Linked DNA regions of Homo sapiens: all the other regions are linked to region 2. The links are contacts of gene promoters, found by promoter capture Hi-C in blood cells and fetal thymus (Javierre and others, 2016). All regions are on one chromosome and are shown on one strand. Each heading gives the region's core, a stretch centred on a gene start or on the middle of the fragment in contact. The rest is flanking DNA. Distances are from core to core; before and after follow the strand shown. Region 1 has its middle 81 kb from the start of LINC02644. Region 2 holds the start of ZEB1-AS1 (ZEB1 antisense RNA 1). Region 3 has its middle 26 kb from the start of LINC02644.

What was found. The method cuts DNA at HindIII sites, captures the fragments that hold promoters and counts their contacts. A CHiCAGO score of 5 or more calls a contact.
Region 1: a fragment that was not itself captured here is called in contact with the fragment with the promoter of ZEB1-AS1 in region 2 in 2 of 17 cell types (fetal thymus and non-activated CD4 T cells); the score reaches 7.0 in fetal thymus.
Region 3: a fragment that was not itself captured here is called in contact with the fragment with the promoter of ZEB1-AS1 in region 2 in 3 of 17 cell types (erythroblasts, endothelial precursors and fetal thymus); the score reaches 8.5 in erythroblasts.

Annotation. Positions count from the first base shown.
Region 1 is chr10:30,802,418-30,806,642 of GRCh38, reverse strand. No RefSeq gene overlaps it. Among named protein-coding and RNA genes, the nearest start is that of LINC02644, 81 kb to the right of the region's middle. The HindIII fragment of the contact is 5,425 bases long and covers 1-4,225 here.
Region 2 is chr10:31,316,373-31,320,508 of GRCh38, reverse strand. ZEB1-AS1 (ZEB1 antisense RNA 1) reads left to right here and starts at 1,414. Exons shown (of 3, transcript NR_148979.1): 1 at 1,414-1,613. It overlaps ZEB1 (zinc finger E-box binding homeobox 1), which reads right to left and starts at 1,293. Exons shown (of 9, transcript NM_001174096.2): 1 at 1,217-1,293. The coding sequence starts at 1,274. RefSeq lists silencers at 719-808, 849-1,298, 2,039-2,098. The HindIII fragment of the contact is 8,209 bases long and covers 1-3,366 here.
Region 3 is chr10:30,747,703-30,751,541 of GRCh38, reverse strand. No RefSeq gene overlaps it. Among named protein-coding and RNA genes, the nearest start is that of LINC02644, 26 kb to the right of the region's middle. RefSeq lists an enhancer at 167-226. The HindIII fragment of the contact is 2,379 bases long and covers 625-3,003 here.

The DNA of each region.
Region 1 (4,225 bases), core at 930-3,429, 510 kb after region 2:
AGTCTTAGCATCCACACCTCCCACTGCCCTAATGTGTTTTTTTAACCAGGAGTGTTCTGGAAACAGCTCAAGAACTCCAAGGTGAGGCTTTCTACTTGCCCGGTGGGAGTGGGTGGTCAGGGGACAGGTCAGCCTGTCCCTCTGTGACCTGTCACACTCTTGAGGCAGCACCTCCTCTGCCCTCCATGTCTCTAGCTGGCTGAGCATAGGGGACCTCTGTCCTCGAATTCCCAGTGCCTCCCCTCCTACCCCACAGAGGCCCTGCAAGGCTGGGCTGCTGCCTGCCCCTGAGCACTTCCTGGGGTGAGGAGGCCCCTTTGCAAGCAAATGTTTTCAGTGTCCCAGGTGGTTTCATGCTCCATCAGGGACAACAAATGTGATGTCCCTACTTCACTTAGGCCCACTCCTAGGTGAGACCTCGTTGTGTCGTGCTTAAATTGGTGGGAAATCTAGAATCCACGTCCTGGGCCTTTCAGAGTGGGAGATGCACAGAAATGAAACAAAGGTCAGCTCTGGGGTGATGGTAGGACCTCAGACAAGTGTTTCCACAGCCCTTTACAGTGACCACCCCTCCTCGCTACTGAGGGGTGTGTGCCTCCCAGGGGCTTGTTGAGAGAATGAGGAGGTGACTCGCCAAATTGACAGAGTCAGGCCTCCACCCCAGCATTGGATTCCCAAGCCCCTGCTCTCTTACTGAGGGGCACACAAACTCACTCCACCTGCAGGTCATATTTTAGCTCTTAGTGAAATGCTAACACGATTCCCTTAGATTATGATGCCAAAAATGGAGATGAACTCCATTTTTCCTTGTCCAACAGGTGCTTTGCTAAGCTGATCTGGCCCATGGGTCCCAGGCTTGCCTCAGAAAAGAGAAGGAGCAAAGGCGAGGCCAAGAATCACAGTTCTTTTTGATTGAACTTGAGACTTTGAAAATAAATAATAATGCCCCCCTGCCTTTTTTTTCTGGAGATGGAGTGTTGCTCTGTCTCCCAGGCTGGAGTGCAGTGCTGTGATCATAGCTCACTGCAACCTTGAACTCCTGGGCTCAAGCCATCCTCCTGCCTTAGCCTCCTGAGTAGCTAGGACTACAGGTACACACCACCACACCTGTCTAATTTTTTTTTATTTTTAGTTTTTATAGAGATGAAGTCTTGTTTTGTTGCCCAGGCTGGTCTCCAACTCATGGCCTTAAGCAATCCTCCTACCTCAGCCTCCCAGAGTGCTGGGATCACAGACGCAAGCTACCGTGCCTGGCTCAAAAATGCCTTTTCCTGTCAGTCTTAGGTCAGTCGCACGCTGAGGGCTTGGTATGGGGGACTGGATGAATCTGGAAAATGTTGGTGTTGTGAAGTCTGCACCAAGCGCCGGGGCCCTGTAGAAAGCTCACCTTGATCCACTAGGGCCACACTCTGCTCCATGCCAACCACCCCAGCAGTGACAATGCAGGCCATGGGCTCAGCTGTCCAGCAGATACCGGGTGGACCCAGGGCAGCCTTCAGGACCCCTGGAATGACTTGTGCCGACGTGGGACATGGAGATGAGCAGGAAGCCCCAACATGCAACTGTTCTGATTTATAGTTCCAAGACTTTAATAACGCAGCTCTTTGACACAAAACATAGTAATGGCTACTTGGATCTGTTTCAATGTATCATGTCACCCTTTGCTTTGGAGATGTTACAAAGCTGTTATGGACACCATCCAGGGTCTGGTTTTACAAGTGTGTTGCTTAGAAGTGCAACTGTGTGTTGGCTCGGCTGATGTTCAAATCTTTGGAGGAGTTTAGTGGGGAGGAAGATTAAAGTGACTATAAAACCACAATCTATGTACAAAATGTATCATGGATTTTAATTTGAGAGCTGTTCTTTTTTTTTTTTTTTCCTCTTGCCTCATACAGCTTGAGGCAATGGTTTCTAGAAGAGTCTTTTGTTTGCATTTAAAGCTGCTCTGGAGAAACACTGTTTTCAACGTTTCTGTGGGTCATAAAACGGTTGGTCTGAGTCCTGGCTGGGTACCCTGGGTGACGCAGGCGTGGGTTGAGGACTGGAGAGCACATGTCCTTTGTGGAGGAGTCCTCACCACAGACAGGAGGCTGCCTGCTGGAGACAGGGCCCTGCCGGGGGTGGCCCAGAGGCTGCCAATCATGGAGCTCCAGCACCTCATATGTGCTGGGTGCATCTCCTTCCCTGGCTTCAAGTTAAAGAAATTTGGGTCCTAGGGTTTTGTTTTGTTTTGTTTCATCCTAAAACGTGAACCTTCCAGTGTGGCCTTTAGACATGAATTTCGTAAATGATTCTGACCTTCTGGGTCTCCAGTTGCTTCGAAGGGAGTTTGGAGCATGGAGGACAGTATCGGGAGGCCACAAGGGCAGGAGTGTCAGTTTCCTGTTGATGATGCCAACACATCATGCCTCTGCACGTCCCGTCCTCTTCCTGTTCTGTGGGAGGTGAGATTCCCATATGTGATGTATTGCTGTTGCATATCAGGCTGGGCGATGGGTCTTGCTTCACAGGCAGAAGGTCAGCTTTCCCAAGCCAGACACTGTCCCTTCCATCTCCTTTTCATGCCCAAATGGTAAGAGGACTCAATACACAATCTGGATTGAATTAAAAGTCCAGGACCCAGCGTTCCTGCCTGAGACATCTGGGCCTGGAGGAGGAATGCAAGCACAGCTGCCAAGTGCCTGGGAGAAGAGTGTGGTCAACACTTGCTGTTTCTGTCTTCATTAGAAAACCCTACACTGGAGGGCAACCTGCAGGCTTCAAAGGCCACATCCCACAGCCTCAGGGGCTGCCCTCCTGCTGCCTCTAACTCAGGTGAGAGGACCTTCAGCACCCATTTCCACCCTCATGGGTTAACCTGGCGATCTAAGCCCCGCGGGACCCTTCAATTCCAGTCCAAGTTCCGATCTCAGCTTGGCTTGGAGTTCAGAGTAAGTTCTGTCCTGAACATGAAAACCACAAAAATCTCCATCCGGAGAGGGTTCAAGAATTTATTTACTCAGGAAATGTCTACTAGACGTTGGAGTATGTTAAAAGACCTCCATGCTGGGCTGAGAGTCAGCTCACCTGAGTCCAGTTCTGCTTCCCACCTGTATTCATTTGCTAGGGCTGTCATGACAAAGCACCAGAGACCAGGATGTTAACCAACAGAAATTGATCGTCTCAGCATTCTGGAGTCCAGAAGTCCAAGATCAAGGTGTTGCATGGTGGGTTCCTCCTGAGAGCCATGAGGGACAATCTGTTTCATGCCACTGTCCTAGATTCTGGTACTTTGCTGGCAATCTTTGGTATTCCTTGGCTTGTAGAAGCATCAACCCAACCTCTGGCTTCGTGATCACATGTTCCCCCTGCAAGCATGTCTGTGTCTGTGTCCAAACTCTCCCTTCTTGTAAGAATACCAGTCATATTCAGCCAGTCAGTTGGATTCGGGCCTGTCCTAATGACCTCACCTTAATTAATTACATCCAACAGTGACCCTATTTCCAAATAAGGTCATGTTCTGAAGCACTGGAGGTTAGGACTTCAACACATGAACTTGGGGGATGCAATTACTTAACACCACCTTATCTCTGAGACCTTGGACGAGTGGGTGAATATTTCTTTTCTCCACCTGTGACATTTTTGATCTTTAAGATTCTTTTCTAGTTCTTAAGCACAGTCACTTTTAAAGTCTTTAGAGTATGATGGTCTATTTTTTTTTTTTTGAGACAGAGTCTCGCTCTGTTGCCCAGGCCGGAGTGCAGTGGCACGATCTCGGCTCACTGCAAGCTCCGCCTCCCAGGTTCACGCCATTCTCCTGCCTTGGCCTCCCAAATAGCTGGGACTACAGGTGCCCGCCACCACGCCCAGCTAATTTTTTGTATTTTTAGTAGAGACGGGGTTTCACCGTGTTAGCCGGGACGGTCTCGATCTCCTGACCTCGTGATCCGCCCACCTTGGCCTCCCAAAGTGCTGGGATTACAGGCGTGAGCCACCGCGCCTGGCCTGATGGTCTATTTCATTTTCACTGTCAGTGGTCTCCAAACAATTCTTTTCATGGAATGTCACTTTTAAAAACACTTTATCCAGGCTTTAAGAAATTTATCATTTCCTGCCTTTGACCGTAGTTATTTGCATGAGTGATATTAAATATATTTAATGATCTGTCAAGGGTCCAGCTAATCAAATGGCCACGGGTCATTTTGGCCACCCTGAGACATGATGGAGTCTCCTGGTGTGTACTGGC
Region 2 (4,136 bases), core at 165-2,664:
GTCCGTCCGCCCCCTCCCCCACCCTCCTTCCACCCGAGACCCAGAGCGCCATCCAAGCCCCATTATCCGGCTTCAGCGCTCCGTGCGTCCGGCCCAGGTAACAACTTCCCCAAAAACCGAAAGAGAAAAGCGCGAGGCGCACGCACACCGGCCCATCCCGGCGCAGAGACCTCGTCTGCCCCGGGAGGGGGATCTGTCTGTGGTGCTTCCCGGTCTCTAAGCCCAGGTAACAACTCCGCAAACACACCCGCCGCCCAGCTCGCCCCCATCCGCGCGGCTCCCGGCGGCGTTAAGTGGGTACCTTTCCTGCCTTGTTCCCCGCGCCGCCCCGCCGCGCCCCGCCAAACGTGGACCCCACTCGCGGGGCTCGCCGCGGAGTCCCCAGGCCGGGGCTCTGGGCCGGGCAGCGGGAGGCGCCAGGGAGGAGGGGCGCTTAGGGACCCGCGCCCCCGCGCCTCTAATCCCCGTTACGCGAGCGCGCCCGGCCCGCGGGTCCCAACTTTACCGCCGCCGGCCGAACCCTGTCCGCCCGCGGCGCGCACAGCCGGCGCCCGCGCACACGCGCGCACAAACCCCACGCAACCCGCGGCCGCCCCGTCCCGCCGCCGCCGCAGCCCGCCTGCCGCGCGCCCACAGCCCGGCCCGAGTCGCGGGGCCCGAGCGACAGCGACGGCGCCGGCCGGGGCCGCGGCGCGCGGAAGCCACTTTGCACGGTCAGCGCCGGGCACAAGTTTGTTCCGCGGCTCCCGGGGGCCTGGGCGCTGAGGGAGAATCGCGCTGAGGGGGCCAGGAGGAGGGGGAGAGGGAGGCGCCGAAGGGCACAAGAGTGGGGAAAAGTGCGGAAAGAAGCAACAGCCGCTCCACCCGGGACCAGAAAAGTGGCCAGTGCGTCCCGGCCGCCCGCCCTGCGCCGGGGATGCGGCGGCGTCGGCGCCGGCTAACGGTCCAGGGAGGCGGCAGGGGCGGCGGGAGCCGCTAGGCGGAGAGAGACCAGGTAAGAGACATAACGGTTCAGGGAGAGCGAGCGGCCGCGGCGCGGCTCCGGCAGCGGCGGCAGCGGAGGGGGGCAGAGAGCACTACTTTCTACTTTCCCACTCCACTTTGCCGTCCCTGCCCCGGCTGCCCCCAGCCCGGCTCGCCCCCCTCACCCCCGGGGGCGCCCCGGCTGCCCAGCTCCCCCTGACTCCGCCGCTCCCCGGTCCCCTCCGCCACTCACCGTTATTGCGCCGCGGGTTCGCCTGCTTTCTGCGCTTACACCTGGGGCCATCCGCCATGATCCTCTCGCTTGTGTCTAAATGCTCGAGTCACCTCCTCCCCCTCCCTCCCCCTTCCCCCCCACCCCTCCGCCTCCACCCCTCCCCCCTCCCCACCGCACCTGGTTTACGACACTCCCGGCTTTACGACATCACCTTCCTTACACCTAGAGGCTCTCGCTCTACGGCCGGAACCTTGTTGCTAGGGACCGGGCGGTTTGCGGCAACCGTGGGCACTGCTGAATTTGAATTGAGGGGCGAGGGAAAAGTTTTCCTCAGGTGTGGTGGGGAGAGGGAGGCGGATGCCGGGAAACCGTAGGGACGCGGTCAGAAAGGCGACGGGCTGTCGGAGTTGGAAAGGTAAAGTTGGAGGCTCGGCGGCGTCCTGCCTCCGCGCTGGCCACACCCGCCGCGGCTGCCCGGGGCAGGGAGGGATCTGGCTGATTCTCCCTGTACCCTGTGCCCTCGGAGCTGCCCCTCCGAGCGCCCAGAGGTCCCCGCCTGCCTGCTTCCTGGAGGCAGGGCTACCATCAGTCCCACGCCTCGCGTGTCCGCCCCCCGCACCCCGGGGCCAAGGAAAGGGATCGCGGTCTGGACTCCCCGGGGAGTTCCCTTGATGAGGGGAAGGGCAGGTTTGGGGACGGCGAGGACACGCGGCGACCGGAGAGAGGCTACCTGACCCGCGCAGCCCGGACTCCCTTCCCTTCCCTTCCAGGGACGCCTGGTTTCCCCCCAAGCGAACCGGGATGGGAAGTGACTTCAATGAGATTGAACTTCAGCTGGATTGAAAGAGAGGCTAGAAGTTCCGCTTGCCAGCAGCCTCCTTAGTAGAGCGGAATGAGTAATACCCACACGGTGCTTGTCTCACTTCCCCATCCGCACCCGGCCCTCACCTGCTGTCACCTCGGCCTCCCACACCCGGTCCGCGCTCCCCGCCCTCTTCCTCGCGTAGAACCGTGGGATCCTAGGTGGCAGGACTCAGAGCTAAGGTATCCACAGGCCATGAATTCCTTCCTAAATGAGCGGTCATCGCCGTGCAGGACCTTAAGGCAAGAAGCATCGGCTGACAGATGTGATCTCTGAACCTGATAGATTGCTGATTTTATCTTATTTTATCCTTGACTTGGTACAAGTTTTGGGATTTCTGAAAAGACCATACAGATAACCACAAATATCAAGAAAGTCGTCTTCAGTATTAAGTAGAATTTAGATTTAGGTTTCCTTCCTGCTTCCCACCTCCTTCGAATAAGGAAACGTCTTTGGGACCAACTTTATGGAATAAATAAGCTGAGCTGTATTTCAAGTAATATAGTTATAAATTAACAATGTAGCAGTTATTGATAGAGAAATTGAGAAAACTGAAACGTGACCGGAGTATTGGAAATAACGTAGTACATCACCTAGCACAATGACACATAGTAGGTGCTCAATAAATTTATGCTTATAATTTTTGTCACTTCTATGGCAGGATTTTTTTATTAGGTTAAAATTATCTTTTAAACACCTTCCGGAATTTTAGAATATTCATTAATAATGTCTTCAAACCTTTCAACTGAAATAAATTTACAGCTGAAGTCTGATGATTTAAAGTTAGAAAGTTTAATCTTGAATATAAATGAACATTTTCTCTCCCACATTTTCTTGGGCATTTTGAGAAGTAAATGCGTTATTTATTGGTCCATGAAATGTGACTGTAAATATTCTTTGCTATACATTATGTCTATATATCTGCATTCATCCTCAATGCCAAAACTAGAATCATTAGTCTTAATGATCATTTTAAGTACAGGCAGTCCTCGCTTTCCTTGATACCATGTTAACCGAAACTTGTGTATGTCAACACGGTGTCCTTGCTTTGCTTGGTTAAGTGTGAGTTCTTCCTCCCTTTTTTTAAGAGTTGTACAATGTTTTTCAGTCGCCTACCGAATCAGGTCATAGACTATGGAATTGACCCCACCCCACCAACATTTTTACAGCTACCCTGATTTCTGACCAGAAAGGAAAAAAAAACTTTCCAGCTCTATCACACATTTTACCTACTCTTAAACTTAGGAGGTATTACAAATAGCATTTTCTCATGTTCTCTTTCTGGCCTGTACCTCCCTGCTAAGCTTCCTTCAGTGTTCATCCTCACCTCATAGAGAGATGAAGTGAAGAGACAAACAGAAGTCATTTTCTTCCTTACTTTAGTGGTTTCTGGTTTAGTTAGTTTGGGCCAAACTGTGGACAAGTACCTTTTCAGGTAACTTTTTTTTCTTATTTCTATGTCCTCAACACCTAGTGGAGTACGTAGCCAATAGTAGATGCTTAATAAACATTTCTTAAATTAATATTGTTGACCTTTTCTGACCCTGTTCTTGACAGTAAGGTACATAATCTGCCTTCATCCCTTTAGTCCTTAGGAACAGATAAAGTCATGGATATGAAAGTGATCACTGTCATTAATATCCACATTAAAATTGCTCTTGATTTTAGTTTCTCCATAATCATTTTCCCTAAACAATGAACTCTGTTCACCTTTTTTTTTAAAATATGCACAGTGAATATTACTGGTAGCCCAAATCTTCTAACATAAAATTTCCATTTTGTAAAAGCTTCTGATAAGCATATATGTTATGAATTGAATGTTTGATTATTATACTTTAATATTCTTGAAAATATTGATACCTGGACTGGAAAGAAAACAGACAAAAGTAAATCTCAGAATAAATTACTGCTTTAAACATGATGCATGTGTGACGGTTGCTTCTTATCTCTTAAATACAGCTAAAGAATAGGGGAAAAATCTTTAGAATCAATTTATAAAAGAAGATTATTAAAATTTAGGTTTATTCAAATCAAACGGTAGGGGATACTAATATATGACTTTAACATGTATCCTGC
Region 3 (3,839 bases), core at 565-3,064, 570 kb after region 2:
TATTGCAAAAACAAAAAGGACATGCTTCTGTCTTACAGCGCACTGGCAGAATCACCAGTTTCTCTCAAAAGTTGTCCAATCTGGGACCTCACACACAGATGGCTTATTACTTTCTGAACTCTGCCAGCAACTCACTGGCATGTCCACACTGGAAATGCTGAGAACATCTTCCCAAACACACGTTGGGTTGAAATTCTCACAGGTGAACAATGGGACCGACACATGTGCACCAAGCAACGACATGTAGAATAAAAATAGACCAATGACCTGCACACGGCGAGGGTTTTTTCAGTTTTCTCTCAGGCTGGATTTCCTGAGGAGTAGGAGTGTAAAAGCTGTGGGTATTTGCTGCCTGCCTCAGGAAGTCCTGACTCCCCAAATAGTGGTTACAGCAAACACCTCTGCACTCTCATTCTCAGAACCCAGAAGAAGCCGAATCCAGGACTCATTTGCTTGTTGTCTTTGGAGGGCTTGTGGGAAAAGAACAATGGCTTCTGTGATACTTGGCCAGGCTTAAGGAGAAGTCATTGGCCACAGCTTCTGAGCAGAGCTGGACTCAGAGATGGACCTGGGGCAGGGCTTTGCATGCAACTGCCTCACTGAGCCCTTAATTGCCACCAAGCTTTGCATACATAGCACCTTTCCTTGGTGACTTAGTTTGTTGTCCCACCAGAAGTACTGGTGGAAAGCAGAGAAGGCACCTTCTTCAGGTCACAGGAGAACTGTATTGTTCTAGATGAATTTCTCACACCAGGATTCCTGCACATCTACCAGGCAGGTCTCCAACACCCCCACACCCCCAGGACCCTGTGAGGACCAGCCCTGCTGAGCCTTCAGAGCCTGACTTTGTCTTGCATAAGATTCAGGCTCCTCTGACGGCTCCCCAAGTTCTGAGTCCCCTGTCCCCACGCCCATCCAGCTTCATTTCCCCTCTTCCACAGCAGACCCCTCTGTCCTCATCGCGCCCCTCTGTCCATCTTCATTGCACATTGTTCCTTCAGCTGCAACACCTTACATGGTCTTCCCTCTGTTGTATCTCCCCTTCAGCCTGCAGGATCCGGGCCACATTCCATCTCCTTCATTCAACCATCTTGTCTAGCCTGAATTTCATCACAAATGCCCCCTTTTCTGAACTCCTACAGCATTTATGTATCAAATAGAACTTGCTAGTATTTTTGCCTCTGCAACTCTGTAACAACTCCTTTGAGGAGAGGGAGGTACAGTGGTGATAGGGGGTGAGCCATCTGCAGGTGGGGGCTCTGGGGCTCTGGGGGTCCAGCCGTGGCCTCCCTGCTCCTCATTAGCTGTTGAACAAATCACCCCCGCCCAGTGATTCTCAGCTTGGGGGCAATTTGTTCCCCTAGAAGACTATAGAGACCAGAGACTTTTCTGGTTGTCACAACCGGGATGGCGCTACTGGCCTTGGAGGCCAGGGATGCTGTAAAACGTCCTGCAATGCATAGGACAGCTCCCTATAACAGAAAGATTTTTCAGCCCCAAATGTCAATGGTGAGAACCCTGCCCTACATTATCTGCTGATCTCCTCACCTGTAAAAAGAAGAAGGGTATGAAAAAATAAACTGAGAAAAAAATGTGTGAAAGCAGAGGAAAACTGAAAACACTGAAAATGCTATATCCACTGAAGCTATTTATATTAGACTTCTTGCTCTTGACACCCCTGTAACAGTATTTCTTCATTTGTGGAGTAGGGTTAGTGGGATGATGGCCGGAACACCGAATGAAGGCTCATTGTGGGTGATCTCATTTGATCCTCAGAGAAGCCCAACTGCATTGGCACCAGCATAGGCCCTGCTTTTCTACAGAGAAGACGGGCGTCAAGCCACACAGAGGCAGCTCAAGGGCACACACTCAGGCAGTGGTGGAGCAGGAGTTTCTTAGTTCCCACTGTGATCAATGGTTGCATCATCTCAAGACAGTGCATGGAAAAGCATTGGAAAACGTTGGAATGCTGTACACGTGTGGTTGCAGTTGCACATCTGTGACCCCGTCCTGATAGCATGATGTCATACGTGCCTTGGAGATTCAGCGAATGCCTGGAGATTAATTAAATGTGAATTACAGCCAGGCACGGTGGCTCATGTCTGTAATCCCAGCACTTTGGGAGGCAGAGGTGGATGGATCACTTGAGGCCTGGAGTTCAAGAACAGCCTGGGCAACAAAGCAAGATGTCATCTCTACAAATAATTTTAAAAATTAGATGGGCATGGTGAGCACCTATAGTCCTAGCTACTTGGGAGGCTGAGATGGGAGGATCACTTGAGTCCAAGAGTTCGAGGTTGCAGTGAGCTGTAATCGCAACATTTCATTCTAGCCTGGGCAAAAGAGTGAGACCCTGTCTTTTAAAAGGCACAGGGGAGGGTGGGAGTAGGGAATTACTATATTGAGTTAAGAGAGGCTGAAAACTGTGAGGCTGCTGTGTGACCTGAGAGCCACATCATGAGAATCTAGTGCTTGGAAAGTACTAGATGTTAGGATAAGTCTCCATAGCCTCAGAGGAGCCTGAGACCTTGTGAGAAGGGTGACTTAGAGCCTAGGTCCTGCCTGACTGCCATTCTCAAAGGATGCTTAGCTCCTGTGCACTTTGCCAGCACACTGTGCACAAGTTCATGTAGCTGTTGAAGAGAATCAGTGAAACCAGGGTCCCGGGATGCTTTCCTTCTGGTTCCAGCTGCAGCAGAGTACACAGGCCACAGTGCTTATACCCCAGGGGTGGGCCCAGAGCCTCCAGAGTGGGAGATTCATGACACGGCTCTGTCTCCTGCAGTGATGTCATGCTCTCCTTTCAGCTAGATTTTAATTTCCAGGGAGAGCTTGCTAAGTTCACTGTCAGGATGCTTGTCCATGGGGCTGGAAGGCCCAGCCTCGATCAGCAGCACAGCATCTACTGAACCACGGTTAACTGTTGTCTTTCTGTATTGAAGGGGGTGGGGAGTGAAATCAGGCCTTGCCTGTCATGACATGGCCAGTGTTGGGAACAAAGCTTATCTTGGTCATTTATCATTTCCTCTTTGTTTTTCCATTTGGGAAGTAAGAAATTAAATTGTATCTAAAGAGAATCTCCTTCCAAGGTCTTCCTCTGAAAATCATTCTGGGACTAGAAAGGGTTTTTCCTATGCTCCGGGCAATAAAGCTTTTAAGACTGATGACATTGACAAAATTCTCTGAGTGACACGCAGGAGGCAACATAATCCTTCTGGTAGGAAAAACATCAGTCCAATAAGCAGATAACATATTGCCTGTTCCTCTGTAAATAAAACAGGACACATCAATTTCTCTTCTGCCTGTGAATGATGACCAATTTATCAAGTGTACACTGAATAATGACTTTCCGTGGGGACAGCAGCTCTTAAGATAAAGTGTTACTGCTCTAGCTACATTATTATAAACAACATCCAATTTATGGAGTTGGGAAGCAGATGCATTTCTCAGTCATATGTCACTATTATCTAGAACGAGCCATAAAATCTAGGCTGTCGCATATTTTCTGGCTGCAAACTTCAAGCAATTAATAGTCCTACAAAGCGGTCTTGATCACAGACCAATTTAGAAATTAGTTGTTCAATATGATGATTAAATTCTAGAGCTGGAACTTGCGATGGCCAACTGTGACAAATCTTATACAACTTTTCAGACGGAAGGAACTGTTTGAGACGCTGGGAGTTTTTGGTGAATTTCAAATGAGGTACCTTCACCTCAAGAGTGTGCTGTGATCTGGCCCAGCCTTCGAGAGGAGGATGAGTCACCGGCATTTTCCTGCATCCAAATGCCGTGTCTGGTCCCCAACCCCTGAGTCAGTGTTAGGGAGGCAGCAGACACAC